2 separate regions of the Homo sapiens genome follow, and region 1 is linked to region 2. Evidence: promoter capture Hi-C in human tissues and cell types (Jung and others, 2019). All regions are on one chromosome and are shown on one strand. The core of a region is centred on a gene start or on the middle of the fragment in contact, and the rest is flanking DNA. Distances in the headings are between cores, read along the strand shown.

Region 1 (6,202 bases), core at 1,866-4,365, 180 kb before region 2:
GCAAAAAATCAAGCTAAACCTTTACCTAACACCACATACTGAAATTAACTCGAAATGGATCAATTACCTAAATATAAGATCTAAAGCTATAAAACTCTTAGAAGAAGACACAGGATCAAAGTGTCACGACACTAGATTTTGCAATGATTTATTGGATATGACACCAAAGTCACAGGCAACAAAAGAAAAAAACAGACAAATTGGACTTTGTGAAAATTAAAACATTTTGCATGTCAAAAGATGCTACTGTCAAAGTAAAAATGCAACCCACAGAATGGGAGAAAACGTTTGCAAATCATATCTTTGATTTAAAACAAATTGATATCAAGAATATATACAGAAGTCTTAAAACTCCACAATAAAAAAAAAAAACTCAATTCAAGAATGTGAAAAGGATTTGAACAGACATTTCTCCAAGAGGATATACAAATGGCCAATAAGCACATGAAAAGATGCTCAACATCACTAATCATTAGAGAAATGCAAATCAAAACTACAACGAGATACCAAATAACACACATCAGAATGACTACTATCACAAAAACAAAATGATGGGAGTTAGAGAGGATATGGAATAACTGGAACCCTTGTGCACTACTGATGGGAATATAAAAATGGTGAACTACATGTAGAAAACAGCATGGTGATTCCTCAAAAAATTAAAAATAGAATTACTGTATGATCCAGCCTTTCCAATTCTGGGTATATACCCAAAAGAATTCAAAGCAGGAACTGGAGAGTTATTTGTACACCCATATTTACAACAGCACTGTTCACAATAGCTAAAATGTAGTAATAACTCAAATGTCCATTGAGGTATGAATGGATAAGCAAAATGTGGTACATACATACAATGGAAAATTACTCAGCCTGAAAAGGGAAGGAAATTCTAACATATGCTATAACACTGAAGACCTTATGCTAAATGAAATAAGCCAGTCACAAAAGGATAAAATTACACCATATCATTCCATTTACAAGAGGTACTTACAGTAGTCAAAATCATAGATCTAGAAAGTAGAATGATGATTGCCAGGGGCTGGGGGTGAGAATGAGGAGTTACTGTTTAATGAGTATAGAGTTTCAGTTTTACAAGATGAAAAAGAGTAATGAAGATACATGGTGGTGATGACTGCATAACATGAATGCATTAAAACCACTGAATTGTATACTTAACAATGATTCAGATGATAAATTTTACATTATGTTTTTCCCACAAAAAAAATAGGAAAAAAATTAGACTCTATACATGTATTTAAAAAAAATGACTCAAATTAAAATGTGTAACTGTGTCAAGTGCTGGTCAGAATATGGCACAACTAGAACTCTCATTCACTGCTGGTAGGAATGTAAAATATTTAACTAGTATGGAAAACCATGTGTAAAACTTAAACATGAACCTATTGTAAGATGCTATACACCAATCCACTCCTAGGTTTTTATAAAATAAAAATGAAAGTACACATCTGCACAAAGATGTATACATGAATTGCCACAGCAGCTATATTTGTAATAGAAAAAAACTGGAAAGAAAACACATGTCCATCAACAAGTGACTGGGTTAACAAATTATGGTATTTCCATACGTAAAGAAATGGAATGACCCAGCAATGAAAAGAAAGGAGCTATTCACACACACAACAGGATGGATGAAGTTCAAAGTAACTGTTATGAGGGAAAGCCAGAGAAAACAATAGATACTGTATGATTCCATGCACATAAGTTCTAGAAAAAGCAAACATCTATACTGATAGAAAGCAGATCAGTAATTAGATAATAGAGTTGAATGAAGGAATGAATTACAAAGAGGAATTGTGTATTATGTTCATTGTACTGATAGTTTCAAGGATATATACATGTCAAAACTCATCAAATGGAATACTTTACATATGTGCTGCTTATTCTCTATCAATTATACCTTTACAGGGTTGTAAAAATAATAATAGATGGCTCATAGAATTATCAAAGGGATAAAATATTGCACCTGGTAAGTTTTAAATGAGTGTGTAAAATGCTGTTATTCTACAACAGAATAAACATTGGATAAACATTATCTTCTATTACTATTATATAACAATTCAAAAAAGTACTTGGGTAATTAAGTCAACATTTAAAGCTCTTATGATATACCTTAGCTTCTTCTTCTTGTGCTTTTTTCACAATTGCTTGTAACTGCACTTCTCGCTTAAACTCAGCATGAAGTAATTTTTCTTCCATCATCCTGCGTCGTTGATCTAGCAATTCTTCCTTCCACTTCCGGACATCCTTCTCCTACGTATAGTGAATCATCACATCCTTAATTTCAATATATACAATCATTTAAAAGAAGTACAAACAAGTAAATGGCTTATGAAATATAAACTCTAAGCGTGGAAAAATGTGCAGCAACATGACTAACAATTAAGGACACAGACTATGAAGCCAGACTACCTGAATTCATAATCTACATTGGCCACTTACTAGCTGCATAATCTAGACAACTTTTTTAGCCTATGTCTCAGTTTCCTTACCTATAAACAGGAAATAAAAATAACATTACCTAACTCACAGGATTATTTGAAGGTTCATAAAACTCTCAGAACAGTGGCTTAGACATGCCTCTACAGAAATATTTGCTATTATTCTTGTACTGTTACCATGAGTATGTTTAAAATGAATATAGTGTATAATTCTTGTCCTTATAAATGTTAACATCTCTATGATGTAACCCACATTCAAGAAAAATAAGTAATTTTATCCTAGAAACTGAAAAATGACATCTAACAAATCACATTATTTGCATAAGAAACATTCTCTGAAGGAACAGAGAGGGTTTCACCTACAAAAAAAGATAGATGTAGTAATTGCTATTTGATGTTATTTTAAGAAATTAACCCTTAAAACTTTAATTCCTTAAAACAATCTCAAACAGAAGAAGCAAAAGCTTGTTCTGTGCTCCAGGAAATAAGATTCAGCACCAATGAAAATAAATTATAGAAAATCAGAAGATGGGTCAATATGAGTGGAAAAAACCTAACATTTTAATTGTTTTTTTCTCTCAATAATTGTGTTGAACCATCCAAAAAAGTATGATACAAAAATAGCACTATACTAAGAGCCAGATGACATGTCCTTAAAGCCTTAGCTCTGCAAATTATTGGTTGTGTAACACTAGAAACAACACTTAGCCTCTCCTAGATTGTTTTTACTTCTATAAAATGAGGTTCAGTACCTGCCCTGTGTACATCATAGAGTTATTGTGGTGATCTGATGATATTACTCATGTGAAACAGTGTTGAAAACAATAATCCATCATACAAATGGAAGATGAAAGTTGCCATTAAAATTAATTGAAGGGATACCTACATTGATGAGAAAATAACCAGAAAACATCTAAAGTCTTGTATACTTTCACTAATCTATGATTTTCTTGCATGAATACTTGGAGATCATATTTAGATAAAAGAAAATACACTATAATTTTGCTGGCATTAAAAAACACAGTAAGAGAAGAACTGTGATTGTGTTAGAGCACTTCTCTTAAGCTAAAATTAAAATAATACATTGACTCTTGCAGAACCCCACAAGAGACTGCTTTTCATATCAAATCTATTCATCTAATGACAAATTCTTGAGATTCAAGTAAAAAGAAAAATCAAAGAATTTTCTTACAGTCCTAGTCAACTTTACTACTGTATTCAACAGAATCGTGTGCTACCTAACGCATTTTTATGAACATTCAGATTATGTGGTCCAACTATTTCTCCCAAATTTAAATCACACACTAAAAGTAATCCAAATAATATGCTTAACCCATGCATATTTATATTCCTTTCTAATACCAGAAGGTAACGAAAGAGTTCACCTGTAATTACAATATAGTGGCCATATATCTTTCAACATGCTGTGTTAGGTACTTGTAGTATGGAGCCTCTGAGATGGTGCCCACTAATCTAAGCCACCTGGTTTTAAGATCCTTATGTAATCTCCTCCCATATTGTATCAGGACTGTGACCAAAAGAATACAGCAAAAGTGATGTTATAAAACTCAGCACAACTTCATTTTATCAACTCTCTTAGGTACTTTTTCCTTTCTCTCCCCCACTCTTTCTCTGATTTTCTATGGAGAAATCACTGGCCATGTCATGAAGACACTTGGGCTGTAGAAAGGTATACTTGGCAAGAAAGTGAGGTTTCTGGCCCACAGCCAAAGGGGAACGAAGGCCAGCAAATAACTGCACAAATGAGTATGGAAGTGGATCCTCCAGACCCAGATGACTATGACCTGACTGATAGCTTAACTAAAAATTCATCAGGCCAGGAGCAGTGGCTCACGCCTGTAATCCCAGTATTTGGGAGGCAGATAACTTCAGGTCCGGAGTTCGAGACCAGCCTGGCCAACATGGTGAAACCTCGTCTCTACCAAAAATATAAAAAATTAGCCAGGTGTGGTGGTGCACGCCTATAATCCCAGATACTCAAGAGGCTGAGGCAGGAGAATCGCTTGAACTCGGGAGGTGGAGGCTGCAGTGAGCCGAGATTGTGCCACAGCACTCCAGCCTGGGCGACAGAGCCAGACTCCGTCTCAAAAAAAAAAAAAAAAAAAAAAAATCATCAAAGACCCAGGGCAAGAATGATGGCCAGGTATGATGGCTCATGCCTGGAATTCCAGTGCTTTAGAAGGCCGAGGTTAAAGGATTGCTTGATGCCAGGAATTTGAGACCAGTCTGGGCAACATGGCAAGACCCTGTCTCTACAAAAAAATTAAAAATTTAACCAGGCAAGATGGCATGTGCCTGTAATCTTGGTTACTCAGCAGGTTGAGGCAGGAGGATGGCTTGAGCCCAGAAGTTCTAGGCTGCAGTGAGCTATGCTGCATCACTGCACTCCATGCTGGGAGACAGAGCAAGTCCCTGACTCTAAAAAAAAAACAATAGAAGAATCATTATGCAATTCCTGGTTGCCTTTTTCACAGAAAAATGTGAGCTGATAAATGTTTGCTGTTTTAAGCTACATTTTTCTGTCATTTATAATACAGCATAGATAACACAGTACTCAGTTATAAGAGTGACTGTATATTAAACAACATCCAACCTAGCACTGTTACTATTTTACATGCTTGCCTCATTTAAGCATCACAACAGGTTAATAATTATAATTGTCATTTTTCAGAAAAAGAAACTGAAATACAATAATGTTAAGTAACTTGCTCAGGGAATCATAGCTTATTATATGATAAAATCAAGATTTAAACTTGGTTGGCTATCTCCAGAGCCCATGTTATTTCCACTTACCGCAATGATCAATAGTTATTCTGCTCTAAATACACAGACTCTCTTCTGTAAATATAATTAGTGCCCCACCCACTTACCCAAACTTGATCATCTTTCCCTGATGTTGAAAATAATGGTTTTCCTCTTCTAATCAGTTTATATCCCATTACATTCATAGACTTTCTAATGAAGGAATATCTTTGAATTCCAGGAATAAACCCAATGTTTCCTATGTTTTCAGGTATTTTGTTTTTTGTTAACTACAGTCATGATGTTGTACATTACCTCACCAGAAATTATTAATCTTGCATAAGTCAAACTGTTGTACCCTTTGACCAATATCACTCCATCTCCCCTCTCTGCTTCTATGAATGTGACTTTTTCCCATATTCCACATAGAAGTGAGATCATGCAGCATTTCTCTCTCTCATTTCACTTAGCTTAATATCCTCTAGCTCCATCCACGTTGTCACAAATGTCAAAATTTCATTCTTCTTAAGGCTAGATAATATTCTGTTTTATATATACACACACACACACACACACACACTCAAATATATACCATATTTTTCTCATTTGTCAGCAGACATTTAGGTTGTTTCCATATCTTGGCTATTACGAATAATGTTACAGTGAACATGGGTGCACAGGTATCTCTTTTTGATCCAGATTTCAATTCCTTTGGATATATACCCAGAAGAAGAACTGCTGATCGTATGACAGGCTCTATTTTAATTTTTTGAGGAAATTCCATATTGCTTACTATAATGGTTATACTAATTTACATTCCTACCAACAGCATACAAGGGTTCCATTTTCTCCACATCCTCCCCAATACTTGCCTCTTGTCATTTTGATAATAGCCATCCTAACAAGTGTCAGGTGATATTTCACTCAAGTTCGATTTCCATTTCCCCTGATCATTATAGATGCTGAGCACCTTTCCATGT
Region 2 (6,841 bases), core at 798-3,297:
ACCAATTTTGCTATATGCTATGGGCTTTTATAGGTCAAGAAAATTGATCTTTGGATTCTCATAACACATTTTTTTAAACAGGCTACTTATTTTAGATATTTATTTTTCCCCGAGTAGAATGGATTAATTACAAGTAATGACATTGGATCAGTCTTGCCTCTTTTAAGCATAGGCCTTTACTGTAATCTGCTTCCAAACAATCCCAATAAAATCGTTGATTTTAAGAGTCAAAAAGTTGCTCAGAGCCTTCTTCAGGGACTCTTAACTTTTTCTGCCACATGGATCCTTTGAAACTCTGATAAAAGCAAAGCTATAGACTTCCTCCCTGGAAATATACACATGCACCAAGATTTTGGGATAAACACACCACTGAAAACCATGCAGGGACCACTTAGGAACCCAAAGATCTCAAATTAAGATCCACTGAGATAACACAATCCTTTTCCTCCAGATGAAAGCAATAGACCCAGGGAGCGAAAACAGCCTGTTTAGGGGCTGAAGACAGAACCCAGCCTTCTGATACTGCTTACTCCACTGTCTCTTTAGATATCATTAAGTTCCCTTGGCCCCCAAAACTCCCATCTGTGGATCCCCTGAGTTTAGAAGAACTTCCACAGTACCTTGTAGCCTACCTTTTATAACTGGAGTCACGCCGGAAGCTGGTCAAAGTTTACCTTTTACTTATTGGAGAACAACAGGTACAAAGCAGAGTTTCTTATATTAAATTGGGACATTTTTCTCTTTTTTTCCTCAAAACCGAGAATGGAAGTGAAAATTAAAATCCAGCAATAAAGGGTTTTCTTTTTAGTTTAATGAAATCAACTCTAAAATTTGCTTTTATTTATATTCTGAAATTTAAAACTTTGTTCTTCGTTGATCTTTATAACATTGGAAAGATTGAACTTACACTTTGCTCTGTGAATCTTTCAATGGTTTGTGACCAAACCATAAATTTCAACCCGACCCAGGAAATTTCTGCGACTTGTGCCCACCCAGTTTTGCAGTTTGGAACAGAATTCTTGCTCCCAATCCAAATAGAGACTGAGAGAAATGAAAGAGGACCCAGAAAGCCTTTTCTTCTCTGTGAAAGGCCTGATCCTAAGTGGCGCAATCAATAAAGAAAAGGGTTCAAGGTGCAGCCTACAAATTTCTTAGAGTTTAATGTGTTCAGGTTGAGGTGGAGAAATTACATAAACCTGTGAATAGACATGGAATAGAAGCCATGTGTATATGCATTCTGTCCCTAAAGGTTTTGCTAGGTACTTACTAAGCTATTCCTTCTGTGCAATCATCTTTCGTTTTTCTACTTGTATGGATGAAAGCCTACCTTCACTGAACACTTCACCTTATGTGCCAGCTATTGTTCTAAACCCATTACATTATTTAATCTTCACGACAATTCTTTAAGGTAGTCTTATTACTATGCTCATTTTATAGATGAGCAAACAAGTTTTCAGGGGTCAAGAAATTTGAGCAAGTTCACATTAACTTGTAAATCACGAAATTGAGCATCAGATACAAGCATCTGGCTGCACTTCCTGAGTTTGTACGTCCTACTCTCATAAAATAGATACATTGAAGACTGAGAAAGAATACTGTTGGCCGATTCCTCAGGCAATAATTTTTTCGATATTGTATTGTTGTCTCAGAAACCTCCAGCCTCTCTCATTGATGGACGGTAGGAGGGGCACATGGAGTGGACCAGGAGTGGGCAGGAGTGGGGTGGGGGCGTGCTTTTAGAAGCGTTTCGGGGGAACGACAAGGCGCGGGTCGTAGAGGTCTACCCTCTCTGCAGTCCCAGCATGGCTCCTGGAGCTCTCTGGGCGGCCGCTGACCCCGACATCGCGGCGGCCCGCCCCCAGCGCCGCGCTGCCCAATCAGCGGCGCGGCCTGGTGCCCCGCCACTCCGCGCCGGCCATATAGGCCTCCTCCTGGCGCGCCTCCGCACCGCATTGGTGGACCGGCCCCCAGCCCGTCCATGGGCGTTGTGGCCGCCACCGCAGGTTCCGCCTCCCGTTCCCTCCGCCCTCAACGTACGTCGCACCGCCTCTCTGTAGCCGCCCGCGGAGCATCGCAGCCGGCCCGGGCCCCCGCCAGCCTCCCTCCTCGCGTCCCTCGGTGTCCTCCGCGGGCCGGCGCGATGCGGCTGGGCCCGAGGACCGCGGCGTTGGGGCTGCTGCTGCTGTGCGCCGCCGCGGCCGGCGCCGGCAAGGCCGAGGAGCTGCACTACCCGCTGGGCGAGCGCCGCAGCGACTACGACCGCGAGGCGCTGCTGGGCGTCCAGGTGAGGCGGCCAGGCCGGTGCTGGGAGGGCCGGGCCTCGCACCGCGGCTGCCGCGGGCTTTGTCCCGGGACAAAGGGGGGCGGCCGGGCGAGGCCTGGCAGGGGCGGCCTGACAATGGGGGCCGGGCGGCGCGGCACTCGCTCTCTGGGGGTCCTGGGGCCTGGAAAGCCTGAGGAGATAGCACGGCCCAAGAGCTGGATCCCTTCTACCCCTCAGATCATGGAGGGTGTGTAGGGGGTAGGGGCCTTGAAGTGCAGGTGCGGGTCACCCCGAAACCCTTTGGCAAGGGGGTCTTCTAGTAGCCCTGTTTTTCTCCACCATTTTGCCCCACTGATAGTAATGCTTGGCCCTCCTGTGTGTCGCTTCCCCCTAAAGGAAGATGTGGATGAATATGTTAAACTCGGCCACGAAGAGCAGCAAAAAAGACTGCAGGCGATCATAAAGAAAATCGACTTGGACTCAGATGGCTTTCTCACTGAAAGTAAGGACTGCCCTACACGACTAACAATGGAGACAAACACAAATATGTTAAGCAGCGGTGTCTGCTGAATGTATAGATTGCTAGTGTCCCAAGTTGGAAGTCCTGTGAGAAGGAGAAAAGGACATGGAGAATAGGCTTTATACTTACAAATCTTTAGACACTGAGAACCAAGTAAAACTCGGTGCTTTCTCCAGTTATATATAAACATCATTGACCCTGTACTCTATGTGGAAGTCACACCTTGAGACACCCTCTTTCTCACGTGACTTTTGTTAGTGTCAACAATATGATTTATTTTAGAGAAATATGCCCCAAAACTTTAAGGCAGTAAATGATTTATCGCTCTTTTGATATATGCTTCATTTAAATTTTAGGAATTTGCTTCTTTTTTTAAGCAAGTAGAAAAAGACCTGTTGCCTGTGAATTACGTTTATTATAACATTATACCAAAATGTTAGAGCTGGTAGGGGCCTTGGGATCATCTTGTCCACATCACTTTGTAGAGATGAAGAAATGAAGCACAGGGATAAGTGCCTTCTACAAATAAGTGGCAAAGCTGGACTAGAATCCAGGTATCCTGCTCTTAATTCAGGTTTTAATATCCTTCAGTTAAAAAAAAAAATCTGATGCTCTCAGGTAAATTCTCTAGTCAGAAATGAAATGCACAGACTATTAAAAGAATGTTCTAAATAAATTGCTGTGCAGTTGTCTCTCCCCATTGTTCAATTCAAATGATGTTCCCTGTCAGCGTTCCAAGTGGGTCCTCAGAAAAATTCAGGTTGTTATTGTGACTCTTAAGTTAGCTGTTTTTCTGTAACTCTCATTTAAATGCTGTTCACCATCAAGGAATTAAGTTGCTGGAGACAATTAAAAACTGGTAAATTTAAGATGTGCTGTCAATGACATATTCACATTGGAACCCTCTGGAAGATTAAGGGCTTTTTTCTTCCACTTAGTTAGACAATAATAACAAGACCTTTGGTCTCTGATTATCCAATCTAAGAATAAGTCAATCTTTGGTTATACTAGAGTAATCAAAGAACACAACACGTTGATTTGGAAGACTGCGTGGTACCTATCTGTCAAGACCTAGATATGTTCAAATATTTAATAGTAAGGTTTTAAGAAGTTTAAACTTAGAAAAGTTTTAGTCCAAATATTCATTATACAGATGAGAAGAAAAGCTTGAGATGGTAAACTACCCCCTGATGGCAAAGCTGAAGTGTGAACCCACATTTCTGATCCCTGTTCCATTCTGTTTTCTTCTATGCCATGGTGATCTCTTTAAATAAACTAGAAGAAAGATTCATGGTGCTTACGAAAGCCTTCATTCTACTTGAGGACCCTTAAGATAATTTTGGCAATTTGCTCTTTGAGGGCCAGGTCTGGAATCAGATGTTAAGAGGTAGCAAAACTCAGTAGGAGTTGGCTTTGAAGCCAGACAGGTTTGAATCTGGACTCTGCTATTTACTAGTTGTGAAGGCTTGGACTTTTCTGAACCTCAGTTTCCTCACCTGTATAATAGTGATGATTATAATTGCATTGTTTTGAAGATTAGAGGCAACATGTACAGAGGAACCTGATAAATGGTATACTCATGCTGTCCTCACAAATATTCGTGTTCGTCCCTCCCTTTGTTTCCTTTAACGTAGTTTAGTAAATATTTTTATGAATAGTTTTTTGTTTTTTTTTTTGAGGCAGAGTCTCGCTCTTGTCACCCATGTTGGCGTGCAGTAGTGTGATCTTGGCTCACTACAGCCTCTGCCACCCAGGTTCAAGTGATTCTTCTGTCTCAGCCTCCCAAGTAGCTGGGATTACAGGCACTGGCCACCATGCCCGGCTAATTTTTGTATTTTTAGTAGAGACGGGGTTTTACCCGAGACCAGGCTGGTCTCGAAATCCTGACCTTAGGTGATCCGCCTGCCTCAGCCTCCCAAAGTGCTGGGATTACAGGCGTGAGCCACTGAGCCCAGCCAAATAGATTTTTTAAAAGTTGATTGAAAAGTGAACATTTGAATTTTAGAAACTTTCCCATGCCTTCAGGTACCAAGTTAAGACAGATAGCTGTTGCAGGAAGGGCATAAATTGCTACCCATAACTTCGTTAAAATTTACTCCAGATGTTTTAACAACATATTTAAAGGTAATATACTGAAGCAGTATTCTCAGTCACTTGAATACCTTTTCAGAATTTAGGCCATATCTACTTAACCATCTATTATTTTCTTACTATAGTTTTAATTCAACTCACATAAAATTTATTTTAAAGGAAGACTTTATGTCACCTTCATAAATAAAAAACACTGTTTTTTCTCATACATACTAAAATAAATAGCTATCAAAATATTTATGCTTCCTGAGAGATCTGTGGTAGTTAGCAAAGGTTTTCTGCAAGATTTTGGATAACATTTTTTTTAAAAGTAAAGTGCTATTTTGGCCAGTTGGTAATTCATTCAACAAATACTTACAGAGCCAGGAACTTTCCAGGCATTTGATGTACATCAGTGAACAGAACATACCCAAACTTTTATGGAGCTTACATTATATTTAGATCATATGTTATAGTATGGAAGCTCCGGCCAGGCATGGTGGCTCACGCCTGTAATCCCAGCAGTTTGGGAGGCCGAGGCAGGTGGATCACGAGGTCAGGAGTTAGAGACCAGCCTGGCCAACATGGTGAAACCCCGTCTCTACTAAAAATACAAAAAATTAGCCGGGTGTGGTGGCACATGCCTGTAGTTCCAACTACTCAGGAGGCTGAGGCAGGAGAATCGTTTGAACCGGGAGGCAGAGGTTGCAGTGAGCTGAGATCGCACCACTGCACACTCCAGCATGGGTGAAAGAGCGAGACTCCATCTCAAAAAAAAATAATTAAAAGCTTCATGAGCTCTTCTAAACAGCCTTTCCCACTTCCTACCCCATTTCTATTAATACAACTAGGCCAATTCTCAGTATTTGCAAACATCAAAGATTTTGCCTTTTCAGAGAAGGTTTGGAAATCCTTACTCTTAAGTATCAGAATTAACGTCACATGCGTTGTGTTCTGGGAAATTCTCATAGGTGAACTCAGTTCATGGATTCAGATGTCTTTTAAGCATTATGCTATGCAAGAAGCAAAACAACAGTTTGTTGAATATGATAAAAACAGTGATGATACTGTGACTTGGGATGAATATAACATTCAGATGTATGATCGTGTGATTGACTTTGATGAGAACACTGCTCTGGATGATGCAGAAGAGGAGTCCTTTAGGAAGGTGAGTTCATGTGCACAAGCTGTTTCTTTTGATCATGTCAGTTCACTTTACCTTCCTGCATGAATGAGCACATTGAGGGCCTGAGGTCATAAGCTGGATTGTCTTGTTCTCTAGGAAATCACCTGTTCCACTTCAGCAGTCATTTTGATGGTTTCCTTTCTGGCCAGATTTAGGACTCTTATTCTAAATTACCTACATGATCCTTCTATCTGTTTTTCTCGGCTGCATCATTTAATTGTCCTCATTTCCAGAGTTGCTTTTTAAATGTGTTTTGAATGAGTATCTCAATATTTTAATATCATTGAATAATCAGTTTTATCTTTATTAAGAAGGCCATTATGGCCCATTCCCATTTTTAAACACATAGTTTTATATACTCACTTAAAAAAACTGCGGTTTCCACATCTGTGGATTCAAACAACTGAGAATCGTAAGTATCCAAAAAAGTAAGTATTAAAAAAAAAAAAACTGTGTCTCTATTCAACATATACAGAACTTTTTTCTCTTGATTATTCCTTAATATAGTATAACAATGATTTATTTCTCATTTAAGTTGTAATTTATATTATAAGTAATCTAGAGATGATTTAAAGCAGAGGTCCCCAACCTTTTTGGCACCAGGGACCAGTTTCATGGAAGACAATTTTTCCACGGGACAGTGTGTGGCGGGGGGGTGGGGAATGGTTTTAGGATGAAATTGTTCCACCTCAGATCAGCAGGCATTAGGTTCTCCTAAGGAGTGCGCAACGAAGATCCCTCACATGTACAGTTCACAGTAGGGTTTGCACTCCTATGAAAATCTAATGCCACCCCTGATCTG

What was found. The method cuts DNA at HindIII sites, captures the fragments that hold promoters and counts their contacts. A contact is called where the count stands out against the background at its distance.
Region 1: a fragment that was not itself captured here is called in contact with the fragment with the promoter of RCN2 in region 2 in 1 of the 25 tissues and cell types used here (spleen).

Annotation. Positions count from the first base shown.
Region 1 is chr15:76,751,678-76,757,879 of GRCh38, forward strand. It overlaps SCAPER (S-phase cyclin A associated protein in the ER), which reads right to left. Exons shown (of 32, transcript NM_020843.4): 15 at 2,131-2,271. Among named protein-coding and RNA genes, the nearest start is that of SCAPER, 150 kb to the right of the region's middle. The HindIII fragment of the contact is 4,177 bases long and covers 1,028-5,204 here.
Region 2 is chr15:76,929,702-76,936,542 of GRCh38, forward strand. It overlaps RCN2 (reticulocalbin 2), which reads left to right and starts at 2,048. Exons shown (of 7, transcript NM_002902.3): 1 at 2,048-2,284; 2 at 2,660-2,765; 3 at 5,825-6,021. The coding sequence starts at 2,141. RefSeq lists a silencer at 1,741-2,490. The HindIII fragment of the contact is 23,440 bases long and covers 1-4,795 here.